Linked DNA regions of Homo sapiens: region 2 is linked to region 1. The links are contacts of gene promoters, found by promoter capture Hi-C in blood cells and fetal thymus (Javierre and others, 2016). All regions are on one chromosome and are shown on one strand. The core of a region is centred on a gene start or on the middle of the fragment in contact, and the rest is flanking DNA. Distances in the headings are between cores, read along the strand shown. Region 1 holds the start of DNAJC3 (DnaJ heat shock protein family (Hsp40) member C3). Region 2 holds the start of CLYBL (citramalyl-CoA lyase).

Region 1 (5,630 bases), core at 1,764-4,263:
TTGATCAGAATCCCAAAATCCTTGAAAATAAACTGTAAATTTGACATATAAGGGTCATTTTTTGTTCCTCAGATTGGCAAAAACTGAAAATCAATTATATCTAGTGATGGTGACTAGGCAGGAATATAAACAGCTGATAGGAATAGAAATTATTCCTTTAGGGAAAGATAATCTGACAACGCATCTTAAAAGTTTAAACAAATTCTTTGATTAAGCAAGTTCAAAAACCTAGTTTTTTTTTTTTTTTTTTTTATAAAGTGTCACTCTGTTGCTCAGTCTGGAGTGCAGTGACATGATCTTAGCTCACTGCAACCTCAAACTCCTGGGTTGAAGCAATCCTCTGCCTCAGTCTCCCTGAGTAGCTAGGGCAACAGGCACGAGCCACCGCACCTGGCTAGTTTTAAATTTTTTTGCAGAGACAGGATCCTGCTATGTTGCTCAGGCTGGTCGCAAACTCCCGGCCTCAAATAATCCTCCCATCTTGGCTTCCCAAAGCGCTAGCATTACAGGTGTGAGCCACTGCGCCCAGCCTAGAAATGTTTCCTAGAAATAAAAGCACAAGTTTGTAAACATAAATGTGGAAGGATGTATATGGTGGCATTAACTTAATGCTGACTTTTTTGTTCTTAATTTGGCACAAAAAGGTGTTTATAAGTGCTCTACTTGTTTCTGAACATTTATTTCTCCTCATAGTTAATTCCTAAACAAATCTTATTCCCTTTACCTACAAAATATGTTCTAGATCTGTTCACTCCTCTCTACCAACATTGTTTTTCCTAGTCAATAAACATAGATCAACCTAATAAAAATTGCATAATACTCTTAATTTTGGATATATCATAAATATGCTACCATTGTTTTTTAAGTCTTTTGCTACTATAATTAACAGTATGAATTACAGTGGAGATTTAATGTTTAACTTCAAAAAGACTCCATAGAGTCTGACGAATGCAAACATATTTACAGTAACTTTTCTTACACTCACTAGATTACTTTGATTTTCGGTTTTATTGGCAAGAGTGATTCGTGAAAACCATGACTAGATGAACATTGGAGGAAACATTCCCAAGCATTAATCACTTAATTTTAGTTTTGTACATTTTTTTCTGTCTAATGTTACCTTTGTTGTAAAATTATCTTTTTTTAAGGAATGCTTTGTAAAGCTTAGTTCTAATATTACAGAATTCATAGTTATGTAATTAATCTCAAAATCACTCACCATTGAAGACCCTTGCTATTTTTATTTCCTATAACACGAAGTCTATTATCTCCTTAATAATTTTTAATTTCCATCCTTAGAACTTCTTCAGCTCTGCTACTTTTTCCTTAAGGCCAGGGTCATAGGCAGCACACTGGTGATAACTCACTGTCTAGAAATATTGCATTTTGTTTACAAAGTTATTTTCTATGTTCAGCATTTTGCTGGCTGCCTTGGGTACAGTACCTCAATTGAATGTCTACACCTGCATATTTGTGGACATTGAAATCATCTACCATTTTTCAGAGACACTACCTTGTGATATAAAAAAACAGAAGCCAAAAAAAAAAAAATCCCAAGGAATTTCTGAAGGAGCCTCTCTTCACTACTCTGCTCTTGTTAGAATAATGAGTAACACTGGTATAACATTCTACAATTTACAAGAATATTTATCTGCTTCATGAAACCTCAAAACAAACCTTTGAGACTATCAGGATCCTAACCACTTTACAGATGAAGATAACTTACATAATAGTTATGGGGTTTCCTGGATCTGACTCCTTTATTCTTCACATTACATTATGTTGCCTTCCCCACAACTAATCAAGGACTCCGTTTTTTCTTTTTTCTTTCTCGAAACCATTTCCTCCATATTAGTTCCCTTTGGAATAGAAGCCTTTTTAAAAGTCCACCTTAGTATATCTTCAGGGAATCACAAATTCACTATGCTATTTATAATTCATGAGTTTCTCTAATGGTATCAAGGCAGCAAATACAGGTGAAGTAATAATTATCCACCTGATAGTACTTAACACACATACCCCGTGTAAAAATACTGCTGGTGTACAGTGTGTGTGTTGGTGACGCCGGAGGAAGTGGCCGTGAACAGGCTTAATGCCGCATTGAGTAACTTCAACCTCATCTTGCTCAGGTTCATATCTCTCCTGAATTTCCCCTGGTAAGCGCAAGATTCAGGATCCGTTCTCACAGTTTTTTGTTTACCAGTTGATGTTGGCTGCATTCAGGAACGCCTTGCTCTCTTAAGCCACAGTGCCTTCCTGGTCTCTTCTTCACAGGGTCTTCCACAATCGCTCTTTTTCCTGGGCACGGTGGTTTGCTGAAAGTCGGGGTGGGGGGCGGGGCGTTCCCAAGTTTCCAGGCCAATTACCTACCTGCCTTAGAGCAATTACGCACTTCTCTCTGGTAGTCCCTGAAATGTTCTAATCATCAGATCGCCCCAGCTTCTCCTGACCGTTTCTTGCTTACGGCTCAGTTCAGACAGTATTTGTTCCGGGACGCTCAGCGGGAGGCGGTTTTTACCGGCTCACTCGAGACCCCAATTCCAGGCGCCCTGCAGCTTCCCTCAGACTCCCCGGGACCGTGTTTGGCCTTCCCATTCGTACGCTGCGGCTGCGCTTTCCTCTCGTAACACCACGCTGGCGAACCTGGAAAGGATCAAATAGTCCCACTCGCCAACCTAGCGCGGCGGGACCGGCCCAAAAGGGCCTTTGCAGCCTGCGCATGCGGACTCGGCGGCCGCCACCGACTCCCCGTCTGCTTCCCTCCGGGCGGCAGCCGCGGTTTGGAGCTTGCTGACAGCTCTGCGACCGGCGGGCGCAGCCTCGTCTCGTGCTTCCACGTTATCCTATCAGGGACGGGGCGGGGCGGCGGCCTCCGCAGCCTATCAGCGCGAACCACGACCCCGGCGAGCCCGGGAGGAAAGCCGCCAGAAAGAAGGCGATTGGATGGCGGCGGCGCTCTGGGGCGTAGCGTCGCCCGGGCCCCGCCCACCGCTGCCTTCCTCTGCTGGGCTCCAGAGCCACTGAGGCCTGAGCGAGAGCCGACGGCGGGCGGGCGCAGCTGCTGCCGGAGCGCCGGCGCGTGCTGGTGGGCCACACACCTTTCCTCCTCTTCACTCGCGAGCCCTCGGACATGGTGGCCCCCGGCTCCGTGACCAGCCGGCTGGGCTCGGTATTCCCCTTCCTGCTAGTCCTGGTGGATCTGCAGTACGAAGGTGAGTCCTGCCCTGCCCCGGCCAGGAAGTGGGCTCCCGGACCAGGCCCCCCGCGCTTTCCCGTCTGCGCCCGGGCGCCTGTCCCGGAGCGGCTCGGGAGGTGGGGCGAGCGCTGGGGGAGCCCGCGGCCTGGCTTGGGCCTGAGCCCGCGCCCGGTTCCGGGTTTGTCTGGGGAAGAATCGAGGGGACTGGCGGGCCGCGGGGCCGGGACAGCGGGTTTGGACTAAGGAACCGGGCCGCAGGAGTCGGAGGAGGCGGGGTGCGGGGGCACCGGGCTACGACTTCAGGAAGTCCTGGGACGCGGAGACTTGGGCAGCCTTTGGGTCCTGGCCTCGCTTGGGACCCTCGCTGGGCGCCTGGGGACACTGTCAGTCATTGGTGCTGGCTGGGAGGAGGCACTAAGGTGGCCAAAAGACTTCCTTCGCTCTGGAGTTCTTGGGTGGGGAAGGAGTGTCATGTCCGGCTGGGAGTTGGAGGGGACAGTGTTGACTATTTAAAAAGTGTGTAACCATCCCCATTAAGATGCACTGTCGTGTAGAGAAATTGTTAGTTTGGTGCAATGAGGAGCCGCTGTTGGAATTCCATCTCCCGGACGGCCAGGCACTGAGTTTGTGGTTTTACAACTCCCAACATGGTGTCATTCAACGTATGGCTGGCATTACTTTTCCAAGTTCGCTGTAAAAAGGTTCCCTTAAAAAGATACGAACGATTAAATTTCACTTCAGTCCTGCAGACTGGAATGTTGGCTACTCCAGAATAGCGAAAATAGAGGGCTGTCCTATCTTAGATGGCAGCGGGGAGGAGTAAGAATTAAAGTTGATAGTGCCGATTTAACGAATGCTTCTGGCGCGGTTACTGTGCGAAATATTCGAGTGTAATGACACATCACATGCACTGATCTATTTTCATCCCCATAAAAAGGGCTAGTTGTCAAGGAGGTCAAATTAAACCTTTGAGTATTCCATTCAAAGGGAGCGAGGAACTAAAAATTGGGAATTGTTTATAGTGAATTCTTCTGAAAGTTCTCAACTTTTTTTTTTAAAGTAGTACTCCCCAGTTTTTAGGTGTCACCCATAGCAATGGGCTTTTGCTTTTGCTTCCCCTGGTAACCATATTTTTTGAACCCCAAATCAGAACACGTAGTGTGGCAACATTGGGACAAAGAATTTGACAGTGAGGCTGCCCCCAGAAAAATCTAGGGGATTGGAATTTGAAGGTCTGTACCACTTTAATATGGGTCATATATTCTAGTTCTTTTGCATTTTCAAAAGCTTCATTCCTCCTGCCCCCGCACCCCACCATCCCTCATCTGTAGTATTTATCTCCAGTTATCATTAATAATTTATTTTGGACACTTAAGAGAAAGTTGCCTATGTTCTGTTTAATGGTGATTTTTTTTTTTAAGTTACAGAGATGCACAATTTTGAATGATTGCTTTTCCCACTACTTTTTAGAATTGCTGTTCTGTATATGAGTCTGTAAGGACTCTTAACTCTTCATTTCCCTCCTGTGGTATTTTCCATAAGAAAACCACATTTGAGAGCTTTTCTGTGTAGGAGGCACTGGTGACATTTCTCAGAGGAGTGCCAGAGTGTCTTCTTTAGGACCATTGTCTGTGTAAAATAGCAGGGACTTAGTACAGGTAACAGAAAAAGGAAAGAAAGGAGCCTTTCTGTAAGCCATATCTTATTCACGAAAGCGTGTGGTATTCATTCCTACTTTACAGACCAGGGAACTGAGGCTCCAAAGGTTTTACTAAAGTTCATTTTGTGTGCACGCTGGAGACAGAAGTTAAGTAGTTGACAACATCATGTGAGTCCAAGCACTTTTAAGTGATGGCAGCTGAGAAAAAAAATCAGCACTTTTTTTTTTTTTTTTTTTTTGTAATTAACAAGAAGGTTATTTCCTGGGAGGTTTAATACAGTGGTTCTCAAACTTGAGTGTGCATCAGAATCGCACATGGAGGGCTTTTTAAAACAGAGTGCTGTACCCCACTTACAGAGTTTGATTCATTAGGTCTTGATGGGACCTGAAATTTTGCGTTTCTAGAAAGACCCTGGATGACCACACTTGAGAACCACTGGTGTAATAAATTATATAGAGGAGTTAAATTAGGTGTCTGCTATGTATTTGACACTGGATTTGGTGATAGGGATATAAAGGTAAGAACTCTGACTTGAATTAGCAAACCGTTAGCCCCTGTTTTCCCAAATAAATTGTGTCTGGATTCACTAATCTCATAGTTCTCTGAAAGGCAAATGGTGCTACTGCTAGGCCTGAGGCTTAATAAAATTGTGTTGTATTAAGGATTTTTGTTAAATAGGTAGGTTTTAGCTGCTCTTGTCACACAAAAAGTAATTATGTGAGATGATAGATATATTAATCTGCTTCACTCTTATTAATCTGCTTCACTATTGT
Region 2 (5,630 bases), core at 1,801-4,300, 3.9 Mb after region 1:
CACCACCATACCCGGCTAATTTTTGTATTTTTAATAGAGACAGGGCTTTACCATGTTGGCCAGGCTGGTCTCGAACTCCTGACCTCAGGTGATCCGCCCGCCTCGGCCTCCAAATGTGCTGGGATTATAGGCGTGAGCCACCATCTTATATGTATTGAATACCTGCCGGGTATAAATCACTGAGCCAGGTGCTGGGGGCACAGCAGCGACAAGACATATAAGGTCCCTGCTCTCAAAGAAGTTATGCTCTCATCCTACAGAAGGTGTTTCTAAGTCAAGACACCAAGAGCCTTTCTCCCAAGGTGGCTACCCAGCACATCACTAGCCCTGCCCCCTAAACAACAATACTGCATCCCAAAGCCCACCTGATAGATGGTTAGTCATCCCATCCCACCCCACCCTCTGAGAACTGCTGGGGAAAGGCACAATAAAGAAGTATTAGGTCGGTGCAAAAGTAATTGTGGGTTTTGCCATTATTTTCAATTCTGTAAGTTTTTTGAGAGCAGGGACCTTGTATGTCTTGTCACTGCTGTGCTCCCAGCACCTGGCTCAGTGAATCCTACCTGGCAGGTATTCAATACATATAAGATGAAATTGTTCTTGCCATTACTTTGAATGGCAAAAACCGCAATTACTTTGGCATGAACCTAATAAATTCACAAACTCATATATCGACATTGTGGTGGAGATGACCAGGCACTGTGACAGTGAAATAGATGTGGGGGCGCCGTTGGGGATCTTTAGGTTATTAGCACAGGCCCCTGTGAGGAGGTGGCACGTAGGCTGAAGGTCCTGGAGGATGAGCAGGTGTAGCCATGAGCATTCTGGGGATGAGGAACGGCATGTGTGAAGGCCCCACGGTGGGAGAGAGCCTCGTGGACTTAGAAAACACAGACAGAAGATGAGTGGGGCTGGAGATAAATTGGAGAGGCTGGCAGGGGCCAGACCGTGTGAGGCTTTAAGGGTCATGGGGAAGAACTCGGATTTTATTCTAAAGCCACTAAAGGGTTTTAAGAAGGGAAGCGATGCAATGACAATAATAATGAGGAATAGTTAACACTACTGAGAACTTGCTTAGATTTTAAGTGTGCAGTCTCTCTCTATGTATATGTAAACTCAGTCTATCATTATAACAAGCCTATGAGGTGATGAGGTATTTATACCCCCATTTTATAGATGAGGAAACAGAGAGCTTAAGAAACTTGACCAAAGTCACACAGCAAGTCAACTCTGGAACTAGGAGCTGCGTCATGCTTTTAAAAGGTCAGCCAGGTTTTATGGCAAACGGGTGATTGTAGGAGGGAAGAATGGGAGCAAGGAGGCTTTGAAATAATCCAGGTAAAGGATGATGATGTCCAGAATCAGACTTGAGTGAGGTGAGTGCAGCCCCAGCCTGGGATGCAAAATTTAAGGAGAAGTCTCAGTAATTACTGCACTCCAGCCTGGGCGACAGAGCGAGACTCCATCTCAGAAAAAAAAAAAAAAAAAAAGATAAGTAATATTGGCCTGGCATGGTGGCTCATGCCTGTAAGCCCAGCACTTTGGGAGGCTGACGCGGATGGATCACTTGAGGCCACGAGTTCGAGACCAGCCTAGCCAACATGGTGAAACCCTATCTCTACTAAAAATACAAAACAATTAGTTGGAAGTGGTGGCACTTGCCTGTAGTCCCAGCTACTCAGGAGGCTGAGGGGTGAGAATCACTCAAGCCTAGGAGGTGGAGGTTACAGTGTGTGAGCTGAGATCGTGCCACTGCACTACAGCCTGGGCGACAGAGCAAGACTGTCTCAAAAAAAAAAAAAAAGTAATATTCTAAACTAAAAACCAAGATAATGGAAAAATCCCATTATGAACAAAATATCAAAATTTTAATTAAAGACAGGATTGGTGTTACTGAAATTGCCTTTGCCTCAGGCTTCAGTATGGCTGGACCGGGCACTGGCTGGGACTAAGGTGGTGACAAGAAAGTGACCAAATTGGAGTAGACAGGCGAGGCCTGAGGTGGAGCAGGCGTGGGAGCTGGGGGAGGGCACCAAGGGGTTGAGCAGTCTCCCCTGTTGGTATCGAATATAACAATAATTCTTAGGCTCAGCAGAAGTTTAGCATCCATGTTCCCAGTCACCTGGACTTTTCCAAATCTTGGAACCCCCTCTGGCTGAAAAGGCTTTTGTTTGTTTAAACGGCCACTTTTTGCATCCAAGAGCACAAGTCAGCTTCCACTGGAAGGTTCTGAGAAACGGTTTCAGGTTTAAGTCTAGAGCATGAATGGAACGGAGTCACAGCTGAAAAAGAAACATGCCGAGTGCCAAGGAAAAGACATGGTTAAGGGGTAACATGGGCCCGGGTAGGTGAAGGTCGGCAGGTGGAGGCCGGCTGGATCAGGGAAGGTGAAAGAAGAGGCAGGGGCAGGGCCCAGCCTGTTTTAACGCCTCGGCGTTCTCACCGCTGCAGAACGGCTGCAGGGGGCAGAGTAAAGAGCTGCTGTCAGTTTCCCTGCCCAGAGAGTGCCAACAGCTGCTCTGACCTATTGCAGGCATGTGTGTTCCAGGATGCAGCCTTCCTGCACTTTGACCACTCTAGATTAATTGCTAACCAAGATATGCACATGATGGGGCTCACAAAGTATTAGGCGGTATTTTAACAACAAAAGCTGCGAAGAAATCCCTAGAAATGTTGGCTCTTCTGGCTGGGAAAACGCAGTCTGTCAACAGTTGCCTCAAAAACTCAGAAGCTCAGAGAGTTGGATTCGGTCACCAGAGAGGCCCCTCAAAGAGGCCCCAACCATTCAGATCCTCTGCTCTGTCCCCCATGACAGCGGGGACGAAGGTCCTAAGCCCTGGCCGGGAGGGCAGTTGACCTCGGGACTCGCCGCGGGGCGGAGCGGGTGCTGGGAGGAAGGAGGGCGTGGCTGGCGGGGTGTGGCTGGCGGGACGGGGCGGGGCGAAGACAGAGCGAGGCGGGGCCTGGGACGGGGGGGGGGTCGGTGTCGCCGTGGGGGCGTGGAATGTGGGGTGGGCGTGGCTAAAGGCAAAGGGCGGGGCGCGCGCGTCGGGAAGATGGCGCTACGTCTGCTGCGGAGGGCGGCGCGCGGAGCTGCGGCGGCGGCGCTGCTGAGGCTGTGAGTGCAGGTCCCCGTTCCCCGCCTTCCCGGCCCGGCTCGCCGCGGGTCGGCTCCTGTTGCAGCCCCGCGGGCCGGGCGCGGCCTCCCCAAGCCCTCACGGGAACCCAGCCGGACGGAAGCACCATGCGCCTCCCACGCGCTGGCTCGACCTCGTCCAAGGTCGCTGCCGCCCGCGCCTCCCTTTGGGAGGGCCCTCGTTGCACCCGGAAAATGGGTACACACCTTAGGTCGAATTACCTGGACTCAGCCCCAGGAAACAAAACTGCCTGCCTCCCCCAAATGGCAAACGTGAACGCGCCAGTCTTTGAGAGGCGGCTTGCCTGGTGAAGAACACCTGCGGTTCGTTTAACACAGCGGTTCCCAAACGGTTTGGTCTCAGGACCCGTTTACACGTCTAAAAATAATTTGAGGACCCCCCAAAGCTTTTGCTTATATCTATTGATTTTTGTGCATGAGGAATTAAACCAGAAATTTAAAAAATATTCACTTAATAACAAACCCATTAACTTTTAATACAAATAACACTTTAATGCATAACTTCTCAAAAAAAAAGTGAGAAGATTGGCTCATGGTTTTTATATTTTTGAAAATTTCTTTGGTTTAATAAAGGACAGCTGGAGTCTCATATCAGCTGTTTTGAAGGAAATATTTGAAAGAAATTCTGGGCTCATGCAGATGCAGATATTAGTTGGGAAAGGGAGGACCAAGCAGACCCTCTCAACGGGTCTCAGGGACCCCCTCAGGTGTCTTTGGACCACACTTTGAGAACCGCTGGTCTAGCACTTGCCCATCGCCTAGGTACGTGCACATACATGGTCTCATTTGGTTCCCTTGACCACCATGTGAAGAAGTTGGGTGTCATGTTTATAAAGATGAAAAAACAGGGTCAGAAAGGTTAAGGATTCTCAAAGCCCTATGACCAGTAATGAGAGAGTTTGGTTCAAACACTAAGTGTATGGCTCCTGGTCTGGAACTTCTTTATTTATTTATTTTTATTTTTTGAGACAGAGTCTCGGTCTGTCACCTAGGCTGTAGTACAGTGGTGTAATCTCGGCTTACTGCAACCTCCACCTCCTGGGTTCAAGCGATTCTCATGCCTCAGCCTCCTGAGTGGCTGGCATTACAGGTGTGCACCACCACCCCTGGCTAATTTTTGTATTTTTAGTAGAGACAGAGTTTCGCCATGTTGGCCAGGCTGTTCTCGAACTCCTGACCTCAAGGGGGTCCACCCGGATCAGCCTCCCAAAGTGCTGGGATTACAGGCGTGAGCCACCATGGCCGGCCTGGTGGTCTGGAACTTCTTTTTTTTTTTTTTTTTTTTTTTTTCCGAGATGGAGTTTCGCTTTTGTCGCCCAGGCTGGAGTGCAATGGCGCCATCTCAGCTGACTGCAACCTCCGCCTCCCGGATTCAAGTGATTCTCCTGCCGCAGCCTCCGGAGTAGTTGGGATTACAGGGCGTCCGCCACCATGCCCGGCTAATTTTTGTATTTTTAATAGAGACGAGGTTTCACCATGTTGGCCAGGCTGGTCTGGAGCTCCTGACCTCGGGTGATCCACCTGCCTCGGCCTCCCAAAGTGTTGGGATTAAAGGCGTGAGCCACCGTGCCCGGCCTGGGTCTGAACTTCTTACGTCTTCTTGCACTGTGACTCTTCAGTCACCCATGTCCTATGGGAGGACCCACCTAGTCTTATGCATCCCACTTTCCCATTTCCTCCGCTGCCCCTGGCACAGGGGAGTCACCCCTCGCCCTAGAGGAGCAGCTCAGGCAGTGTATCCAGGCTGGTCCAGAAGGGTCCTTTTCTGGCGCCTTTTGAGGGGGCCAGCGTCTGTGACCTGTTCAGTAGCGGGTCCAGTGAGCGCACACAGTCCCCACGCCAGTACGCTGGGGGTTAACTCAGTGCTCCTCACCCGCCTTAGCACACTGGTCTGTTCTCGACATGTCTACCCGCTGAATATAGGATTCTTGATTGGCATTTTTTTTCCTTTGAGCATTTTAAAGCGTATTATCGCACTGTCTTTTTGCCTCCATTATTCTAATGAGAATTCAGACGTTAATGTTATTAGGGTTCTATGTAAGTGATGAGTCTTTTTTTTTTTTTTTTTTTTTTTTTTTTTGCTTGATTTTCTCTTTGTCTTGGTCTTTCGGTGGTTTTATTATGATGTGTGTAGATCTGTTTGAGTTTATCCTCTTGGAAGTTTATTGAGTTTCTTGGATGTGTATACATCAAATTTGGGAAGTTTTTGGCTATTGTTCTCTCAAAAAAGTCTACTCTCTTATCTCTCTCTTCTCTTTCGGAGGCTCCCATTGCGTATATGTTGGTGTAGTTGATGGAACCCCACAGGTCTTTGAGACTGTTCCATTTTCTTTCTGTTCCTCAGGCTGGACAATGTCAATTGACCTGTCTTTGTTTTTTTTTTTTTTTTTTTTTTTTTTGAGACAGAGTCTTGCTCTGTCACCAGGCTGGAGTTCAGTGGCGCAATTTCTGCCCACTGCAACCTCTGACTCCC

What was found. Contacts are between HindIII fragments. The CHiCAGO score rates a contact against its expected background, and 5 or more counts as called.
Region 2: a contact is called between the fragment with the promoter of CLYBL here and the fragment with the promoter of DNAJC3 in region 1, in 1 of 17 cell types (neutrophils). The highest score is 6.8, in neutrophils.

Annotation. Positions count from the first base shown.
Region 1 is chr13:95,674,126-95,679,755 of GRCh38, forward strand. DNAJC3 (DnaJ heat shock protein family (Hsp40) member C3) reads left to right here and starts at 3,014. Exons shown (of 12, transcript NM_006260.5): 1 at 3,014-3,212. The coding sequence starts at 3,131. DNAJC3-DT (DNAJC3 divergent transcript) reads right to left here and starts at 2,800. Exons shown (of 2, transcript NR_132117.1): 1 at 1,727-2,800; 2 at 1-543. RefSeq lists enhancers at 2,104-2,951, 2,215-2,314, 2,952-3,798, 3,145-3,194 and silencers at 2,835-3,074, 3,305-3,394. The HindIII fragment of the contact is 3,320 bases long and covers 1,162-4,481 here.
Region 2 is chr13:99,603,640-99,609,269 of GRCh38, forward strand. It overlaps CLYBL (citramalyl-CoA lyase), which reads left to right and starts at 3,051. Exons shown (of 9, transcript NM_206808.5): 1 at 3,051-3,118. The coding sequence starts at 3,057. LOC105370332 (a long non-coding RNA gene) reads right to left here and starts at 2,210. Exons shown (of 3, transcript XR_931674.3): 1 at 2,123-2,210. RefSeq lists enhancers at 1,914-2,893, 2,816-3,110 and a silencer at 2,832-3,391. The HindIII fragment of the contact is 13,725 bases long and covers 1-3,541 here.